2 separate regions of the Homo sapiens genome follow, and region 2 is linked to region 1. The links are contacts of gene promoters, found by promoter capture Hi-C in human tissues and cell types (Jung and others, 2019). All regions are on one chromosome and are shown on one strand. Each heading gives the region's core, a stretch centred on a gene start or on the middle of the fragment in contact. The rest is flanking DNA. Distances are from core to core; before and after follow the strand shown. Region 1 has its middle 3.5 kb from the start of CYP4F8. Region 2 holds the start of SYDE1 (synapse defective Rho GTPase activating protein 1).

Evidence for each region. Contacts are between HindIII fragments. The study calls those that stand out against the background at their distance.
Region 2: a contact is called between the fragment with the promoter of SYDE1 here and a fragment that was not itself captured in region 1, in 3 of the 25 tissues and cell types used here (dorsolateral prefrontal cortex, lymphoblastoid cells and spleen).

What each region holds. Positions count from the first base shown.
Region 1 is chr19:15,610,039-15,613,407 of GRCh38, forward strand. It overlaps the pseudogene RPL23AP2. Among named protein-coding and RNA genes, the nearest start is that of CYP4F8, 3.5 kb to the right of the region's middle. The HindIII fragment of the contact is 7,491 bases long and covers 1-3,369 here.
Region 2 is chr19:15,105,527-15,109,086 of GRCh38, forward strand. It overlaps SYDE1 (synapse defective Rho GTPase activating protein 1), which reads left to right and starts at 1,875. Exons shown (of 8, transcript NM_033025.6): 1 at 1,875-1,995; 2 at 3,530-3,560. The coding sequence starts at 1,908. The HindIII fragment of the contact is 3,798 bases long and covers 621-3,560 here.

The DNA of each region.
Region 1 (3,369 bases), core at 5-2,504:
TTAAAGCTGCCGAGGCAGAAATACTTTGATAAGGGTTTATTTGAAGCCAAAGGTGAGGATCAACCCAGAAAGATGCACCAACACATTTGGATGTGTGCCAGAATCTTTTACAATTTGGAATGTTTTTATAAGAAAGTTTAGGAGAAGAGAAGGGAACTTCTTATATCAGAATTGTCTGTTTTTATTGGAGGGTATAATACAGAGGTCATAATGATTAGATACAGGTTATAACATACAGGCTAAAACATTTTGTATGTAAAACCATCAGTGAAACTTTATAAGAGAGGGCACAGTGGCTTATGCCTGTAATCCCAGCACTTTGGGAGGTTGAGACGGGCAGATCCCTTGAGGAGAAGCTCATCGCTCCTGAGGCCAGTAGTTCGAGACCAGCCTAGCCAATATGGTGAAACTCTGCTCTACTAAAAATACAAAAATTAGCTGGGCATGGTGGCACATGCCTGCAATCCCAACAACTCGAGAGGCTGAGGCAGGAAGGTTGCTTGAACCTAGGAGATGGAGGTTGCAGTAAGATGAGACTGCGCCACTGCACTCCAGCCTGGGTGACAAAGACCCTGTCTCAAAAAAAAAAAGAAAAGAAAAGAAAAACTTTATGATTTATAAATATAAAGCAAAACTTCATGGTTTAGAAACAAAGGATTGTGCTTTTCCATATCAGTGGAAAATCAGAACATCAACAGTTGGAAGAACTCATAAGATCTGAGTAATTAAAGATAAGATTTGAGGAACTCACAAGATTCTTTACTCAGGAACAGGATGTAACCCATGCATCAAGAGATCTTTTCCGGGGGCTAATTGGGACTAATGTGACTGGTAGGTTATCAGCAGAGACCACGTCTGTCTTGTTCAACCTGTGTCCCAGGTCCTAGCACCATGCCTGCTACCATTTAAGTGTTCATGTGAAGTTTGTTGTTGAGAAACTAATTACCTAAAAGTTAGAACTTGACCTTTGCATTTTATCGAGGAGGCTATGAGACTCAGAGGGTTACACAGCTAGTGAGTGGCAGAGCCTGGACTTGAACTCAGTTGTGCTGAAGCCAGAATGTGTTCCTTCCTGAGCATTCAAGGACAGGGAAGGTGAAACTCCAGCTAGTGGGCAGCCCGTGTGCTTGTTCTAGGGAGACTGCAGGCCGATTCCTGGGAGCTGGGTCTTCATGGTGACACAGTAAGAACAACTCACCTATTGGCTGGGCGCAGTGGCTCACGCCTGTAATCCCAGCACTTTGGGAGGCCGAGGTGGTTGGATCACTTGAGGTCAGGAGTTGGAGACCAGCCTGGCCAATATGGTGAAACCCTGTCTCTACTAAAAATACAAAAATTAGCTGGGTGTGGTGGCTCATGCCTGTAATCTCAGCTGCTCGGGAGGCTGAGGTAGGATAATCGCTTGAACCTGGTGGGGCGGAGGTTTCAGTGAGCCGAGATTGGCACCATTGCCCTCCAGCCTGGGTGACAAAGTGAGACTCTGTCTCAAAAAACAAAGCAAAGCAAAACAAAACAAAACGAAACAGAACTACTCACCTATGTTGTGGATCAACTGTGTCCCCACTGTACCAAATCCTTATTTATTTAAAAAAATTTGTTTTGGACCCTTTTCACAAGATGGTGCCGAAAGTGAAGAAGGAAGCTCCTGCCCCTCCTAAAGCCGAAGCCAAAGCGAAGGCTTTAAAGGCCAAGAAGGCAGTGTTGAAAGGTGTCCACAGCCACAAAAAGAAGATCCACACGTCACCCACCTTCCGGCGGCCGAAGACACTGCGACTCCGGAGACAGCCCAAATATCCTCGGAAGAGCGCTCCCAGGAGAAACAAGCTTGACCACTATGCTATCATCAAGTTTCCGCTGACCACTGAGTCTGCCATGAAGAAGATAGAAGACAACAACACACTTGTGTTCATTGTGGATGTTAAAGCCAACAAGCACCAGATCAAACAGGCTGTGAAGAAGCTCTATGACATTGATGTGGCCAAGGTCAACACCCTGATTCGGCCTGATGGAGAGAAGAAGGTATATGTTCGACTGACTCCTGATTACGATGCTTTGGATGTTGCCAACAAAATTGGGATTATCTAAACTGAGTGCAGCTGCCTAATTCTGAATATATATATATATATCTTTTCACCATATACATGCCTCTCTGTCAATTTCTGGTTGGGCTGGGAGGCCACACACAGACACTGACATGACAGGGCTTGGGCAAGACTCCTGTTCTACTTATCCTTTTGAAATATTCACCCTGCCACTCCACCATGTGTGATCACTCCAGAGATCTTTGTGACTAGAGTTAGTGTCCTAGGAAAACCAGAACTCAGAACTTGCCTCCATGGTTGAGGGTAACAAGAAGCTGTACAAGAACCCCTTTTATCCCTGGAAGAGGCTGTGTATGAAACCAATGCCCAGGGTTTGAAGGGCGTTAGCATCCATTTCAGGGGAGTGTGGATTGGCTGGCTTTCTGGTAGCATTTTGTCCTCACACACCCATCTACTGTGTCCAACCGGTCTGTCTGCTTCCCTCACCCCTTGCCCAATAAAGGACAAGGACTTCAGAGGAAAAAAAAAATTGTTTTAATTATTACATTTATAGCATCCCAGCTTGAAAAACGAAGCAACAGAGACGTGTAGAAAGTTAAAAGGTTTCTACTCCAATTGTAATTTCTCCAATTCCATCGTGGTATGTGCATTCTTCTGGATTTTTTTCAGTGTGCATACACATGTGTACATACAGACACATACACATACACTCGTACGTTTTTTATATTGATGGGACCATTACTCACATCTTTAATTTGGAACTTATTCTCTGCTCTCTCTCCCTGTGTCTGATAGAATGCTGGCAATGCTTTGTGATGCTTTAGGAGACACATTTGTCAGATGTGAAGACTTAGGCTTAGGAATTGATGGGTGGTGACTGAGGCTGGTCACTCTGTGGTCTGGTGCACTTTCCCACTGCCCCACTCTGGGTAGGGGTGGAAGGGCCCCTGCAGAGAAGCACCAGCTTCTGTTTTCCCATGAGTGACTCCCCTCCCTCCAATACTCACTAGGGGACTTTCCATAAGCCAGGCTGTGTGATTTGGCCCCTGAGATATTCCTGGTTGGATGAGAAATCTTGGGGAGACTCCAGCCTTCTCAGGCACAAAACTCCCAGAGTAGAGAGCTCCCTCTGGACTATCTCTCCTGCCCTTGGCCTCAATTTCCTGTTCTGCTACCTGGTCCAGGAATCAGGACCTCAGTGATGAAACTTGGCTTCTCCCAGGCTGCAGAGTCCTGCTGGGGTGTGAGTCCTTGCTCATGGCTCATGAAAGTTCAACATATGCTTATGGCTTCAATATTGGGCCAGATTTCACTTCCCACCTTGGCC
Region 2 (3,560 bases), core at 625-3,124, 500 kb before region 1:
GTTTTGTTTTTTTGAGACGGAGTTTCACTCTTGTTGCCCAGGCTGGAATGCAGTGACACAATATTGGCTCCCTGCAACCTCCGCCTCCCGGGTTCAAGAGATTCTCCTGCCTCAGCCTCCCGAGTAGCTGGGATTATAGGCATGCACCACCACCCCCAGCTAATTTTGTGTTTTTAGTAGAGAAGGGGTTTCCCCATGTTGGTCAGGCTGGTCTCGAACTCCCAACCTCAGGTGATCCGCCCGCCTTGGCCTCCCACAGTGCTGGGATTAGAGGCGTGAGCCACCGCACCCAGCCGAGCCCAGGAGTTTGAGACCAGTCTGGGCAACATGATGAGACTCTATCTCTACAAAAAGTAGGGAAATTAGCCAGGTATGGTGACACATGCCTATAGTCCCACTTGCTCGGGAGGCTGAGGCAGGAGCATCACTTGAGCCCAAGAGGCTGAGACTGCAGTGAGCTGTGGTGGTACCACTGCACTCCACCTTGGTCTAGTTTTATATATTTTAGGGAGACATGAGACAGCAATCAATATATGTAAGATGCACATGGGTTTGGTCTGGGAAGGCAGGACAACTCAAAAGTAGGGAGAAGGCTTCCAGGTTATAGGTGGATAAGAGAGAAACAATTGCATTCTTTCGAGTTTCTGACTAGCCTTTCTGAATATGCAATTTACAGAGATAGTCACTTATGCCTTAGTCTGGCTTAGTGAAACAAATAGGTAAGGAAGCGATCAGATATGTGTTTGTCTCATGTGAGCAGAGGGACAATTTTGAGTTCTGCCTGTCCTTCATCCATAAGGAATTTCCTTGTAGGCAAATTGTGGGGGAGGTATGTAGCTTTTTTTTTCTTTTCTTTTCTTCTTTTTTTTTAGACGGCATCTTGCTCTGATGACCAGGCTAGAGTGCAGTGGTGCAATTTTGATTCACTGCAACCTCCACCTCCCGTGTTCAAGCAATTTTCCTGCCTCAGCCTCCCAAATAGCTGGGATTACCAGTGCCCACCCACCATGCCTGGCCAATTTTTTTTCTTTTTCATATTTTTAGTAGAGATGGAGTTTCACCATGTTGGCCAGCCTGGTTTCGAACTCCTGACCTCAAGTGATCCGTCGCCTCAGCCTCCCAAAGTGCTAGGATTACAGGAGTGAGCCACCGCGCCCAGCTAGCTTTTTTAACCTTGTAGCTATCTTACTTAGGAATAGAATGGGAGGCAGGTTTGTCCTACACAGTTACCAGTTTGACTTCTTCCTTTTGGCTCAGTGATTTGGAGGTCTCAAGATTTATTTTCCTTTCACAATCACGACATGGTTGTTTTACATCATTACGTTTGGGGATGGTTTGTCAAACAGCAGTAGTAATTGGAATTTGGAGGTGAGAGAATTGAGTGGGGAAAGAGTGGCATGGGGAGACCAAGGAAGAAGCTTGGGGTGGGGTGGGTAGTGGGGACGGTCATTGAAACGAATGACACTACGGCTTGCACCAGGTTGAAGCAGTACCTGGCAAGGAGAGAGAGGATACGTGGAGGCTGCGATTTGGAGACAGACCCAAGAGAACTTCCTGGATGCCATCACCCAGAGTCCCATCCAGGGAGGGTGGGTGAGGTGGAAGACAAGGGATCGGGCCTGCGCCACGATCGTCACGTCCCATCGAAGCTGGAGCGGATCCGGGCACCCGGAGCCCCCATTCCAACCCCTCCCGGCCCCAGGCAACTACATCTCCCAGCATCGCCCGCTCGGGCCGCGGGAAAGGGGAAAAAAAAAAAAAGTTTGGGCCAAGCATTCCCGGAATGTGCTTCCTGCTGGCGCGGGGCGGGGGGCGGGCGGGGAGGCCCGGGCGGGGCGGGGAGGGCGCGGGGCGGCGCGGCCGGAGCCCGGGGCGCGCACTCGGCTCGGCCCGGCCCGGGCCGCAGCATGGCCGAGCCGCTACTCAGGAAAACCTTCTCCCGCCTGCGGGGCCGGGAGAAACTTCCCCGGAAAAAGTCGGACGCCAAGGAGCGCGGTAAGCGGAGATCGGTGGGGAACAGGGGGCGCCGAGCCCCACCCGGCCTGGGAGCGGGGTCCCAGGGCCCCGAGGACAGACGGTGGGGGGGATCAGGGGGAGCCCCCCGCACCCCGCTGCAGACTGGGGTGCCTCCAGCCAGGGGAGGGTAGGGGTCCTGGAAGGAAGGGGCTGGGAGGGAGGGGGGCGCGGACCGTTATGTGCTGCTGGCCGGGGATGCCAGCGCTGCGGGCTCCTTGGGAGGCCCGGGAGGGGGCCTCGCCCACGACAGGAAATGGGGCCGCGACTGAGGGCCTGGAGGGTGGAGGGGAGGAGGGGCTGGGAGGCCGGGACACTGGGGCCCAGTCGGGCTGGGCAAGGGGCATCGGGAGCCCTGGAGGCGCAGGATGGGAGATGGGAGGCGTACTCCTGCAAAGGAAAGAGAGGGGCGGCCCGTCAATCAGAGTAGCTGCCCCCTCCGCCTCCCACCTACTAACAGTGACGGCAACTGCGCCTGCCTTAGCCCCAGGAAACTGTCCCTTTTATACAGATGGGGAAACTGAGGCACGGAGCAATTGGGTCATGTGCCCAGGGCCATCGACTTAAACAGCTCTTTGGACTATGCTACAAACAGAGACCCTAGAGGGTGGACATCAGAGGTGGCCAGAGGAGGAGTTCAGCAGGGTAGCAAGTAAAAACCTTAGAGAAACAGCTGCGTGGGATAGGGGGACCCAGGAAGGAAGGAGTTAAAGGAGGAAGGCCAGACCATTCCATGGACGTACCCCTTCCCCCCAGGCCTTCCCAAAGATTCCCAATGTTCCCAGGGAAGGGAGAAGGGACAGAGATGCCCAAACACAAACACACACAGGAAACAGCCCAGGACATGAGACAGGAGAGGAGGGAGGGAAGGGGAAGTCCCAAAGCATTGAGCGTGGGGGGTCTGGCCTGGGCTGAGGGACAAGGGCCCATCCCAGGATGGCGACAGAGTTTGGAAGACAGGAGGGAGGGTAAAAGGGGCAGGGGACTGGGAGTGACTGTGCTGCAGGGAATAGAAAACCCAGCTCCTCACTCCTGAGCACGTAGTGCCTGCTGTGGGCTGTATACTTTTCCAAAAGGCTCCTGGAAGCCTCCCTGGACATGGAAATCACATCCCCCCATTTCACAGGAGGATACTGAGCCTCAGAGAGGGAAGCGACTTGCCCAAGGCCACGCAGGTGCAAAGCTCCATGCCACGGTTATTGAGAGGGTAGAGGAAGTGGAGACTGGAACGCAGTACCTACGGGCCCCAGGAAGCCTGACTTAGAACCCTGAGGCTGCAGGGATGGAGTCCCCTTTTGGGATGCCAGGGACTGAGTAGGGGGTGCTCTAAGCTGATAACTGAGATCGCTAGCCTGTGGCTGCCTATTCCAAACAAAACAGCAGGATCCAAGGAACCATGACTTATCAGGGGCCGGCCAGGGCCGTACACAGCATCCCACCCACTGATCAATTGCACAGGGCTGCTCTGCAGGCAGTGAGGGGCTGGGTGGGTCTCACTCCCCTTGCTCTCTGCCAGGCCACCCAGCCCAGCGCCCAGAGCCCAGCCC